Linked DNA regions of Homo sapiens: region 1 is linked to region 2. The links are contacts of gene promoters, found by promoter capture Hi-C in blood cells and fetal thymus (Javierre and others, 2016). All regions are on one chromosome and are shown on one strand. The core of a region is centred on a gene start or on the middle of the fragment in contact, and the rest is flanking DNA. Distances in the headings are between cores, read along the strand shown. Region 1 overlaps ALPI (alkaline phosphatase, intestinal). Region 2 holds the start of NPPC (natriuretic peptide C).

Evidence for each region. Contacts are between HindIII fragments. The CHiCAGO score rates a contact against its expected background, and 5 or more counts as called.
Region 1: a fragment that was not itself captured here is called in contact with the fragment with the promoter of NPPC in region 2 in 1 of 17 cell types (M0 macrophages); the score reaches 5.8 in M0 macrophages.

Annotation. Positions count from the first base shown.
Region 1 is chr2:232,457,815-232,464,425 of GRCh38, reverse strand. It overlaps ALPI (alkaline phosphatase, intestinal), which reads right to left. Exons shown (of 11, transcript NM_001631.5): 7 at 6,559-6,611; 8 at 6,294-6,428; 9 at 6,018-6,209; 10 at 5,678-5,794; 11 at 3,673-5,566. The coding sequence ends at 5,280. Among named protein-coding and RNA genes, the nearest start is that of ALPI, 5.0 kb to the right of the region's middle. The HindIII fragment of the contact is 1,979 bases long and covers 1,257-3,235 here.
Region 2 is chr2:231,921,027-231,927,645 of GRCh38, reverse strand. It overlaps NPPC (natriuretic peptide C), which reads left to right and starts at 1,250. Exons shown (of 3, transcript NM_024409.4): 1 at 1,250-1,486; 2 at 1,931-2,241; 3 at 5,331-5,837. The coding sequence starts at 1,397. The coding sequence ends at 2,221. RefSeq lists an enhancer at 1-560 and silencers at 962-1,181, 2,137-2,186, 2,267-2,356. The HindIII fragment of the contact is 15,333 bases long and covers 1-6,619 here.

The DNA.
Region 1 (6,611 bases), core at 997-3,496, 540 kb before region 2:
AGGGCACGATCAGATGCAACTTCAGCACCCAGGCCAGAATGGCACAGCTGGGATCCCCCTTGAGTCCTCCCGAGAGGCTGCCGGAGTGTGCTCCTCTCGCTGGATCTGGAGGCTTCCTGTGCCAATCACTGGATCTGTGCAGGGGCAGGGGTTCAAGGGAACTCGATGGGCAGGGGGCTTCGAATCTGCTGGGGACTGAACCTGTGGTGCCTTCTGGGGTCTGTGCTCTGCAGGGAGTGAGATACCCCTGCTCACAGGGAGTTGCTCAGCCTGGGCATCCTGCCCAGTACTCAAGTACTTCAAAACTCACCTGGACCTTGGGGTTTGGTTAAAGGGATGTCAGGCACTCCTGAGTGCCTACTGTTTGCTCAGCTCGCCATATGCCTTGCCACAGCCCTGAGCAGTGGGCGCCCCAAGAGCTCATGTTTAATATCAAGTTCCATGCTGGCGCCTTCACCCTTCATGCAGGTACCACCCCACGCAGTTCTCTGGTGTCCCAGAAGAAGGGAATTTGGTGCCCGAGACCAGGGGTTGATGCAATACCCACTCTGGATTGCACGCTTTCAGCGGATTGCGGAGGATTAGAGTTTAGTGCGTCTAAGTGGATTGATGGATTATATGATCTTGTTTTTTTTTTTTTTTTTGAGACAGAGTTTCACTCTTGTTGGCCAGGCTGGAGTATAATGGCACCATCTCAAAACCTTCGCCTCCCGGGTTCGAATGATTCTCCTGCCTCAGCCTCCTGAGTAGCTGGGATTACAGGCATGCGCCACCAAGCCCAGCTAATTTTGTATTTTTAGTAGACACAGAATTTCTCCATGTTGGTCAGGCTGGTCTTGAACTCCCAACCTCAGGTGATGGCCGATCACCTCAGCCTCCCAAAGTGCTGGGATTACTGGCGTGAGCCACCGCGCTCGGCTTATATGATCTGGTATTAACCGAACTCATCCCCCAAAATGGCCAAGTGGCTCACACAAGATTCCTGTAAGGAATCTGCAATGAACACCAGAAATCCAGAGCAGGTGAACCACAGCAGAAGGGAGAGCTGAGAATTCCTTATTACTCTTGGCTGAGCTCAGGGTACAGACCTGACCAGAAGTTAGCCCCTAAAATAAAAAATCAGCAAACAAAACTCTTTGAATTTCCCCCACTCTGTGGTTACTGCTGAAGTTTGCCCCGGGTGCCTGGTGCCTGGAGCTATTAAGTCATCAGCAGTGTGAAATCCTCATGGTTGGCAAGGTGTCTAAAACTAAGCTTTCAGAACCGAAGAGAAACCTGAGCAGTTTTTTTCCCAGCGGTGTTTAAAGTTCTGTGCTGTTCAACCCAGTACTTCTTAGTTATTTCCCTAAGCAATGATAAATATTTGGAAAGCTCTTTTAAAGTTTCTTGCATGATAGCATGAAGCAAAAAACATCTACCAATGGGCAGACACTTATTCTTTCTGCTGCAGGAAAAATGGCAGAAACAATGAACAATAAATGATCTGTCGACAAACCGAAAGGCATTTCTTTGTCAGCAAACACCATCGAAAGATGTAGAGAAAACACTGCCGAAGATTGGAAGAAACTCATGTTAGAGCAAATTACCCAGTGTGGGAGGTTTGCTTTGCAGTGTGCTGAAAGCACAGATGTTCCCAACATGGCTCAGCTGAAGGTATTTGCCAGGTTCTATTCCAATAATGAAATACACAAACCACTTCTTTCTTTCTTTCCTTTTTTTTTTTTGAGCCACTAAAGGGAAGATATAGCAGACAAGATATATTGCCAACAGTAAATGCCTTCTTTAATAAAAACGATGTCATATGGGAAAAACGGTAAAAATGCAACCACAGATAGAATAGCTACTCAGAAAGGGTTTTTTAAAAAAGGATTCTGGATACGAATCAGGGTGCAGAGGTGGCTTCACCCTTACCCCTCACTCATTGGCTCATCCACAGTCTAATCAGCGCAGGGAAGAGGTAGAAGCCTGGAGGGCATAGAATGTTGCAGACCATCAGTGGGCTAATGTTATAAAGCCAAGACTGTGGCATTACAGTAGAATCTTTCCCATACTTGGTAAGGAGATTGGGTGGACCATGAAAACTTTCCAGCCACACAGAATGACTTATCTTCATAGCAAAATACCGAAGAGGGTTGCCCCAAGTTCCCCTCCCTCTCTGCTTGACTTTCCCTCCCTCCTTATTTATTTATTTATTTTTAGACGGAGTCTCACTCTGTCGCCCAGGCTGGAGTGCAGTGATGTGATCTCAGCTCACTGCAACCTCCGCCTCCTGGGTTCAAGTGATTCTCCTGCCTCAGCCTCTTAAGTAGCTGGGGCTACAGGCGCCCGCCACCAAGCCCGGCTAATTTTGTGTATTCTTAGTAGAGACGGGATTTCACCGTGTTAGCCAGGATGGTCTCAATCTCCTGACCTCGTGATCCGCCCACCTCGGCCTCCCAAAGTGCTGGGATTATAGGTGTTAGCCACCGTGCCTGGCCCTCCCTCCTTATTTTTAAAAAATTTATCAGTAATTTTTAATGTATGTCTGTTTCTGCTTCCCTGTGATTAACTCTTTTTTTTTCCTGTGAATATTCTTTTTTAAAAGTTTAGATTCAGGGGTACATGTGCTTGTTTATTACATGGGTAGACTGCATACTGGTGGAGATTAGGCTTCTAGTGAACCCAATACCCATATAATGAGCTTGTACCCGATAGGTAATTTTTAAATCCTCACCCCCACTCCCACCTCCCTCCTTCTTTTTTTTGAGAGGGAGTCTCGCTCTGTCACCCAGGCTGGAGGCAGTGATGTGATCTCGGCTCCCTGCAACCTCCGCCTCCAGGTTCAAGCAATTCTCCTGTCTCAGCCTCCGGAGTAGCTGGGATTATAGGCCCCCACCACCACGCCTGGCTAATTTTTGTCTTTTCAGTAGAGACAGGGTTTCACCATGTTGACCAGGGTGGTCTCAAACGCCTGACCTCAAATGATCCGCCCGCCTCAGCCTCCCAAAGTGCTGGGATTACAGGTGTACGGCACCATGCCTGGCTAATTTTTGTATATTTAGTAGAGATGGGATTTCCATGTTGATCAAGCTGGTCTCGAATTCCTGACCTCAAATGATCTGCCCACATTGGCCTCCCGAGTGTTAGGATTACAGACGTGAGCCACTGCGCCCGGGCTCCCTCCTTCCTAAAGACCAAAATGCTGACACTTTTGAGATGACAAGAGCTGTCTGTTTTAGGCAATCAGGAAAAAGCTTGAAAAATAATTGTACTTTTCTTGCATCTGCTCCTTCAAGGTAAAGATGTCCTTTCAATGAAAAAATGAGAAAGTAATCATCTTGGAATGAAAACTCATGCCAAAGAAAACATTTTTTAGAACCAAAGTTTGAGAATGTTTTCATTGACATGTGAATTTTGTGGTAAAAAATGTATTTGACTGATAAAACCCTGATCCCTACACATTTAAAAAAACTTGAAAGCAGATTATATATTCGAATCTGTTTTTTAAAATTTAGATATAATTTACATACCATAAAATTCATCCTTTTATTTCATTTTTTAGACACAGATTTTCGCTATGCTTCCCAGGCTGGAGTCCTATGGCTATTCACAAGTGGGATCATGGTCCTCCAATATTTTTGTGACAGCTACTAAAACCCAGAATTAAAAAAGAACTACCCTGAGAGTCAGGCCTTCAAACTGATGTTTTACAATTTTATTTCAAGGTTTTAGTAAATAAGAAAGCATATTGAATGATGTTACTATTTCTTGCAAAAGCAAGATGCTTTTTTGCACCTTTGTAAATGTACAAATAAATTTGTAATACTGCAAAATTTGCTGGAAAATGTGGTTGATTTCACCTTTATTCTTTTCAATGTTCTCTTGGAGCAGGTGTGTACTCACTAAGTATGGCTGTATTGGGATGGGCGCTCCAGAATACTTTCAGAGGGAGGTCAGAAACACCTGGAGTCAGCTCCTTCCCCAGCTTTCACCTGAGCCTGCCACCACCCCCACCCTCTGCCCAAAAGACCAGACCCTTCTCCTGGCAGCAGCCAGAGTGCTTATTTCCCAACCAGGGCAGGTCACAGCCCTCCTCAAAGACCTCCAACCACACCCCTCTAACCAGACTTCACAGTCCCCCATGCACACCCCACTCTCCTGACCCCTCAGGCTTTCCCCACTCTGCCCACCCACCCCCACCCCTCTGATCCAGCCCTTGGCCTCCCAGAGCACCTGCTGACACTGCCCCAGGGCGTTTGCACTGCTGTGCTGCCTTGCTCAAGCCCCCACTCTGTTCAAGTCTCTTGCTCAATCATCTGCCCCTCAGCAGTACCTCCTGGCCTGCGTTATCCACCTCTCCAGATACTGTGCCCACACTCACTCATGATTTTTCTCCTAGGAAGTAGTACTGGCATTACATTGTCTAACACCTTTTATTATTGCTTTGTCTCCTAGGAGAATGGAGACCTTGAGGAGGCAGGGGAGTCTTCCTTGTTGAGAAATCTATGCCCAGCATCCAGATGTCCCGGGAGGGCCCATGGGCTCTGGGTTGCTGCCCTGTACCCAGAGCTCCTCAAGCGCTCCTTGGATCTGGTGACCTGGAATGGGCACTGGGGGGCAGGAAGCATCTGAGTGGCTGTGACTTGGGGCAAGCCTCTGCCTCATTGGTCCCTTGGTCAGGTGCAGGGGTGTGGAATGATCCTAGTGGGGAGACAGCAGAGGACTGTGTCAAAGCCCCCCTGGGAATCCCCGATCCAGTAGCCTCCTTGGGTGGGTTGCAGGGTTGCCGGAAGCTTCTCTTCTTCAGGTGTCCTGATCCACCCAAGTCCTTGGGTCTACCAGGTGCTGCCAGGATTGAAGCTAAGACGGTGGGGCACGCGGTCTGGGTGTGTCGTGTCCCACGATGGGGGACGTCTCTGGGTCCAGGCCTGCTTGGTCTTCCTTAGGATAGAGGCAGGGTGGGGGTTGGGTGGTTTTGGTCCCTTTATTGTCTGGGGTGCAGGCAGCCGCATGGCACAAATCTGCAGTCTCTGGGGTTGGGAGGAAGAATCAGAGAACAACCTGAGGGGAGGTCCTGGAAGTCCCAGGCTCAGCTCCCAGGGCGCCCTGGGCTCCTGCTCCCTGAAGGGGATGCGGAGGGAAGAAGGGCCCCGCTGCGCCAGCTGAGGCTGGTTTATCTCTAGGAGGTGAAGGTCCAACGGCAGGACACCTGTGTGTGTTCGCTGGAAGTGGCGGCTCAGGACGGGGAACAGGGCAGGACGCCCGGAGGTGGGGAGCAGGATAACTCCGGAGTGGGGCACTCAGGGAGCAGCGGACGCCCCCAGCAGCAGCAGGGTCCCGGCCAGCAGTGGCAGCGACGCGGCAACTGGGTGCGCGGCGTCGGTGGTGCAGGCGGGAGGCGCCAGGTCGCAGGCCGTGTAGGGCTCCAGACAGGCAGCGAAGGCCATGACATGCGCTACGAAGCTCTGCTCCTGCACACCATGCACCAGGTGCGCCTGCGGGCCGCGCGCAAACACCGCCACGTCTTCGCCTCCGTGGGTCTCGGACGACAGGGGCACCGCCGCCTGCTGCTGGTAATCGGGGCTCCCTGGTAGGAGGGTGAGTGCACTTCAGGGCAGGCAGGCGGCGTCCCCCTCCCGCGAATGCCCCCATCCCTGGCACCCTGGTCCCCCTGCACGGGCCATTCAGCCTCACTCACCGCTCTCGCTCTCATTCACGTCTGGTCGCACGCCTGAGTTGAACACGTAGCCCGGGCCATTGCCGTACAGGATGGACGTGTAGGCTTTGCTGTCCTGAGCCTTGCTGGGGGCCAACCCTGTAGGGAGATGCGGGTCCCTGTAGTTGAGCTGACCACAGCTGTGGGAGTGCCTCCTATGTGCCAGGCACCGCCACTTTTTGCCTGTTCGGGGGCTCGGTCCTCACAAGATCCCTATAGGGCTGGTGCCAGCATTGCACACTTTTGACAGAGGAGGAAACTGAAGCTCAAACTTCACCCTCATAATTGATGCAGCAGCACCTGCCACTCTCCCCAGGCCTACCGAAGATGGAGCTCCCTCGCAAGGTGTAGCCACCAAAGGAGAAGACATGGGAGTGGTCAGCGGTGACGAGGGTCAGCGTGTCCTCCTCGCTGGTGAGCTGGCCCGCCCTCTCAATGGCGTCGTCGAACATGACCGCCTCAGTGAGTGCCTGGTAAGCCACACCCTCATGATGACCATGGTCGATGCGGCCGCCTGCAGGAAGGCCAGAGGGGGGTGATGCTTGAACCTGCCCTGCCGCGCCCCGCCTTCCTCCACTCCCCAGGGGCCACCACGCACCCTCCACAAAGAGGTAGAAGCCGCGGGGGTTCCTGCTCAGCAGGCGCAGGGCAGCCTCTGTCATCTCCATCAGGGAGGGGTCCAGTGTGGGGTCTCGGTGGATCTCATATTTCGTGTCTCCGGGCTCAAAGAGGCCTGTGGGACAAGGAGCTTGGTGGTGATTGGCAGGCTGTGAGCGGGAGGGTGCTGGCAAATGGGCACACAGGCTCGGATGGCACCCTCTGAGGTTGTCTGAGGAATGCCAGGGCAGGAAGGGGGTCATTACCCATGAGATGGGTCACAGACTGGTCCAGGGACGCCTGCATGAGCTCAGTGCGG
Region 2 (6,619 bases), core at 1-2,500:
TTTGTTCTCTCTCCAGCCTGCGTCCTGCTCAGCAGCAGCCAGTCATAGATTCCTGCTCTTCAATCAATTCGGGGGATCTGGGCTCTCCGCCTCTGCGGCCCACACCGCAGTGCCCAAATGCCCACCACACTCCTTAGTGTCCAAGGGACCGAGAAGCCCAGTGCAAGGAGAGCAAGTTCGTGAGTGGTAGGGATATGTGGCCATGTCCCGAGAGCCACGGGGACCTCTCTACAGTCAAAAACGGGAAGTTGACCACCTGTCACGGCTGGCAGAGGCTGGACTGGGCCGCTGGCTAGGAAGCTCTCTCCCCAGCCTGTGAAAGTGCACAGGATACTGGAGCGGGCTTCCCCCAGCAGCGGATCCTCGCGTGGGTGCAGGCAAGGTCAGGTGCGCATTGTTCCCACAGAGGGAGTTCACCAGCGGAGTCAGACCCCGGGACGTTCTGTGTGGCCGAAACCGGCTGAACGTGAACCTAGAGCAGTAACTGGCGAGCATACGATGCCGCGGAGCACACGCATGAGCATGAATATCTTGGTTCCGCGCTCGCAGTCCCCTCGTTCCCGCCTTGCGCTCAAACACTCAGGCTGGCGACACCCCTGCACTCTCCAGTGTGGAAGACTTGCGCTCCCCCCTGCGGCCCAGGCGAACCCCGCTCTCCCTGCGCCTCCCACCCCAGTCCTCCAACCCCATCCTCTGCCTCCCCAACCTAACGACGTCGCTGTGGTCTGCGCTCCCGCCCTGACCGGCAGGTGAAAGGCGGAGCTGCAATGCCATCCCGCGGCTGTCAGGTGCCCAGGGAAGAGTTTGGCGACAAGCAGGGCTGCGTGGATTTCGGGCAGCGCCAACTTTATGCCTGTATGACTTTGGGCAAGTGACTTCATTCCTCTGAGCCTGTCTTTGCACCTGCAAAGAGGGCTACGTATCCCTTCCAGGTAGAGTGAGTGCGATGAGGACCTAGTGGGTGCACAGGGCACCAGGCGCACCGATGCTCGGCAGGCCAGGGCGCGCGCTCGCTGCAAATGGAGTTCCCCTGTGCGCTCAGCTCTGCAGCTCCAAGTGCAGCCTGGAGCGAGCCCGCCGAGCCGCGGGATCCCTCCGGGGTGGGATAAGGGAGGGGAGCCCCCGCGGCCCCCTCCCGGCCCTCGGCGCGGCCGCGTGCGTGGTGTCATTGGCCCGGGCGGCCCGGTGGGCGGGAGGATGACATCAGCGGCAGGTTGGATTATAAAGGCGCGAGCAGAGTCACGGGCTCAGAGCGCACCCAGCCGGCGCCGCGCAGCACTGGGACCCTGCTCGCCCTGCAGCCCAGCCAGCCTGCTCCGCATCCCCCTGCTGGTCTGCCCGCCGACCTGCGCGCCCTCGCTGCCGCCCGTGTGCGCCCCTCGACCCCAGCGGCACCATGCATCTCTCCCAGCTGCTGGCCTGCGCCCTGCTGCTCACGCTGCTCTCCCTCCGGCCCTCCGAAGCCAAGCCCGGGGCGCCGCCGAAGGTGGGTGCTGTCGTGGGGACGCCGAGCCTGGGAGAGGCGTGGGAGGCTGGGGGCTTGGAGAATGCGGCGCGCAGGACCCAGGAGAGAGGGAAGGCAGGCGGCTGTCTCCTCCGAGATGCGCGTGGGCGAGAGCCGGGGAGCCCTCGAAGCGCGGATTCGGGGGTCCACTTCTCCAGCCTCCGGAGAACATCGGCCCATGCGCAGCCCCCTACCCCAGTGTGGCCTGCCCGGCGAGCAGCAAAGGGAGGGCAGGGGGCTTCCGGAGGGAGCGGCGAAGGCGGCCGCGTGGCAGGTGGATGCGGGGCCAAGCTGGCCGGCATCGGTGGGGGCGGCTCTGGGCTTGGGAGGGACACCCCGCGCCGGCGGGCGCGTGGGGCTGGAGCATCAGAGTCCCCCGTGCTGCAGCCGCGTGTCCCTTCACCTGCCCGCTCTTTCCTCGGACAGGTCCCGCGAACCCCGCCGGCAGAGGAGCTGGCCGAGCCGCAGGCTGCGGGCGGCGGTCAGAAGAAGGGCGACAAGGCTCCCGGGGGCGGGGGCGCCAATCTCAAGGGCGACCGGTCGCGACTGCTCCGGGACCTGCGCGTGGACACCAAGTCGCGGGCAGCGTGGGCTCGCCTTCTGCAAGAGCACCCCAACGCGCGCAAATACAAAGGAGCCAACAAGAAGGGCTTGTCCAAGGGCTGCTTCGGCCTCAAGCTGGACCGAATCGGCTCCATGAGCGGCCTGGGATGTTAGTGCGGCGCCCCCTGGCGGCGGTGAGTACGGCCCACCCGACGCCCAGCCCCAGCCCGGCCCGGGACCGCCCGCCGCCCAGCCGGCCTTCGGAGGCGCGCGAGCCGCCTTTGCTCAAGTTGTGCTAGGCGTTTGCCAGCCGCCCCCTTTATTATCCCACTTTACAGACAAAGAAAGCGAAGGATAACGTGATCGGGGAACTTTGGCAAGGTCAGAAACGGCTCAGCCTGGTTGAACCCACCTGGCTTCTTCTGGAGAAGCAGAAACAGGCTTGGTGGTGTCTCACCCACCCCTGAACCGTAGCTGAACTAGCAGCACTGGCCCCTATTGGCCAGCTGGTGGGGGGATTGAGAGGAGATCATGGGTTTGTGGGAGCAGAGAAGGAAGGTTACACCCACAAGTCCAGGGGACATCGATCATCTGCTGGCCACCATGCCCCCTGTAGTGAGAGTAGCCCTCTGCTGGCACTGTCAGAGCGCCCTTCTGCCTGGGACACTCCGATTCCTGTCCCTTCTCTAAACCCAGGCAGTGGGCAAACTGGTCTGTCCAGGGTCCTGAGGCAGCTGCAGCCTGGTGGCTTCGGGGGTGAATCTCAGTGCTTGTGGCACTATTTCAGGGAATAGGAAAGACACTAAAGTAAATATTATTTGCCCCAGCCTCGAACTCAACACGTCCCAGAGTCCCTCACCAACCCTGTCCCGACCCAACCGGTGCTCTGGGCTCCGTTTCTGGTGTGGGGTCTCACCCCGCACTAGGGCTGGAAACCTCTGCCCTACCGCCACCCCCTGCCGGGTGCCGCGTGGTGGTAATTTACTGCTGCAGAGAGCCTCACCTCTCCTCTTTCCCTCCTCTCTATTCCTGCCGCCTGCCCGTGCCCACTGAATAACATCCCAGCCTCTGACATTGACAGTCATGTGCGTTAGGATCAGGCTTACCTGGCTTTCTCGCTTTCTTGCCTCCAGCTCAGCAGCTGCCACTGCCTGTCCCACACCTTGACTGTCCCATCCCAGGCTACGGGCAAGCTGCTGTCTCCTCCCCAGAAACCCTTGTCAGTGTCGGATCTTCTCCCGGAGGGAAACAAGAGCGCCTGTCCAGCACACTGTCTCTTTTTTACAGTACAGAACACTTTTTCACAGTTTGTGAACCCATTCACCTCTCCATATTGAACAGCTTAAGGGCGAAGTGCTGGCCTAAGGCACTCTAGGACCCACTGCACCCCGAACAGACTCGTGGAAATATTTGTCAATGACCAGAGAAACCAGCACACCCTGGCCCATGGCCACTCCCACCTGCCCGAGGTTTTAACCAGTGCCCTTCCTCTCTTTGCAGCCAGACCTCACTCGGCTGTGGGCCTCTCCCCAGTTCTGCAAAGGCTGTAGTTGTCTGTGATCTTGACTCTCCCCTGCACAGGGAGAAGAATGATTCTGACACTTGGGGACCAGCCTTCAGTAGCTACCCTTGGAATGCCTTTGCTCTCTTCTCTCCTGTCTAAACAACAAAGAGACGGAGTCTGAGGCCTCAAATTTTCAGTTTGATTTAAGCATCAAGTTCAAACTTTAGAACCTGAGCAAATGTTAGTGACTCTCCATTGGTTCGTACCTGGAATGCGCATCCCCACAGGGGCTTTGTTCTTGGGCCTGGATGTCTGTGGTCACCAAGTGATGGCCAAACGGGTGGTGAAAGATGCTGTGTAGGAGGAATCCACATTGTTAAGAATTCTCGACCCCTTTGATCAGGGGGGTTCAATAATCTCCTACCAGCTCTCTTAGCATAGATGAACACTTACCGTCGACACCTTCAACACCGGCTTACGCCCAACACCAGCTGTTTTATTATTATTTGGGAAGGGCGGTGTGGATTTATTATTTGGGATTTTTTAAATGAAAAATAAAAACCCCACCCTCACTGCCCCCCATTCCCAGTGAGAGAGCAGAACATCATTCCTGCAGGCTCCTGGTGACGATGCCCAGGATATATCACTGGGCGTAAAGAGAAAGACAGCTTAGATTTTTCACATTAATGAAAACTCTTTGAGGTTGTGGCTGTTTCTCCACGCAGTGGGTGACCTGGGCTCTAAGCCACCGTAATGATGGTGGTTGATGGTTCTAGGTATTCATTGTAAAATGCTAATGACAGAGACTGGGTGTAGGTGAAACCTGAATGAACACTTTGCCCCTGGGGCCCAGCAACATCACAGACAGCTGTCATCTGTGTAAACTCACGGCAGAGCCAGAGAAGGGAGTGGGGGAGGGTTCATCAAGCCATTCTGGCCCAGGTCCCCTCTGTGCATGCTGTCCTTTGGGAGGGCACTGAACGCCCCTGAAGGCCACCTTCCTTGGGCCCCGGGGCACCCACACACCCATTAGCAGAGAGTTTACCCTAACAACACTCAGAGCCCATGACTGTGCATTTCCCCAAGGCTGGTGTGAGACACCATTTCCTCTGCTCCTGAAGGGGACCTGGACCCAGACCCTTTCCTCTGCACAACCAGCTAGGGAAGGAGGTGCTGTTTACTGGGTGGCAGCTGTGACCCAGACACTGCCGATGCCCGATCCGAGGCTCCCTGTTGAATCTGAAAGCCAGCCCTAGGAGGTGGCTATTATCCAATTTTATGGGTGAACACTCCCAGCTATCCAGGGTCATCCAGGGACCCAACGTCAGAGTAGAGATTTGAGCCCAGGATTCCTGATCCTGAGATGTCTCTCTTCTCCTTCCATCCATGGTCACTCAGACACACGAACCCCGGGCGAGCACTGACTGAGGGTTTGCGTTGTAGCAAAAAAGGGATGGGAGATTTTCCATTCTCTTTCTCTCACTGCGCTTCCCTGAGTGCCAAGGGCAAGGCCTGTGGTTAGACTGGGGGAAGAAGGAGTGTTGCAGACACGCTGGTTCCACTTGTACTGGGGCAGCAAAGCAGAAGGGGCCTGGGGAGTGCGCAATGGGGGGCTCCTCCCCTCTGCAGGAAGGCCTGGTTGGGGGGGTGGCGGAGGTAGGGGAACATCCCTCAAGCTGCTGGGAGAAGGGGAGGAAAGGTTCTAGAACCACCCTGCCTGCTAGGATTTCTCAGCTAAGGGGCCAGAACTGAGCGTCCCGTGTTCACTCTGTGTTTCAGGATCGGGAACTGGCTCCGTTGTGCTGAGGTCATCTTTGGTCATCAGCCTCCAGCATCTGGAAACACCTCCAACGCAATGTGGCTTTTACATTTCTTTCTTTCTTTCTTTTTTTTTCCTGGTACTGGGAATACACAACACCAGCTGTTTTATTATTATTTGGGGAGGGGGTTGTGATTTTATTATTTGTTTTTTTAAAATGAAAAATAAAAAGTTATATATTATATATATATTATATACATGAAACACACACACCTACACCGACTTGATGACAAGGGACAGTTTTTAAGAGACTGACAGAACCAGCTGTAAAACATTGCTGTTTGTAAATTCATGTCATGCATAAATGTATTTATGTTGTAAAGCTATTTATATTGTTTATAAAGAGATATTTATAAAAATTTTATTTATGTAACTAAATGAAAGAAGTCAATCATTGTAATGTTTTTGTCCTAACTAGTTAAAAAAAATGTAAAAAAAAAAAAGTCATTCCATGAATATCTTGAAAACTGTCTTTATTTACTTGTTGCCTGTATTTTTTAGGACTTAGGCTGAGAAAGAGGGAGAATGTGAAGAAAAGGCATTGCCTCCAAATAGGTCTGACAGGCAGATTCCCAATTCTGGATTTATCTGTGTCAGAATCCCCTGGAGACCTTGCTAAAAATACAGATTCCTGCCTTCTCCGAATCTGATAGGACTGGCTGTGTAAGTTTCGTCCCAAGTGATTCTGACCAGCTCAGCCAGGTCAGGAAGCTCTGCTCAAACACCTGACCGCTAGGAAGTCAGATGTTATGAATTAAATTAATGACGGCCGGGCGTGGTGGCAGGTGCCTGTAATCCCAGCACTTTGGGAGGCCAAGGTGGGTGGGTCATCTGAGGTCAGGAGTTCAAGACCAGCCTGGCCAATATGGTGAAACCCCATCTCTACTAAAATTACCAAAATTGCCGGGCGTGGTGGCAGGTGCCTGTAATCCCAGCTACTCGGGAGGCTGAGGCAGGAGAATTGCTTGAACCCAGGAGGCAGAGGTTGCAGTGAGCCGAGATCACAGACGGCACCCCAATCCTGGGCAACAGAGCAAGACTCCATCTCAAAAAAAAAATTAATTTTGAATTCAGCTGACTTAGGGTCCTGTAAATTCTACTCCATCTTCTGCTGTTAGTGGAAGAAATAGCTGCTAACTCCCTCTCTGTTTGGGGGAGATTTAGAAGGCTTCTGCATATCTTGCAGAATTGGCCAGGTCACCTTACGAATCTCAGCAACTCTGTTTTCTAGACTCGCTCACAAAGCCTA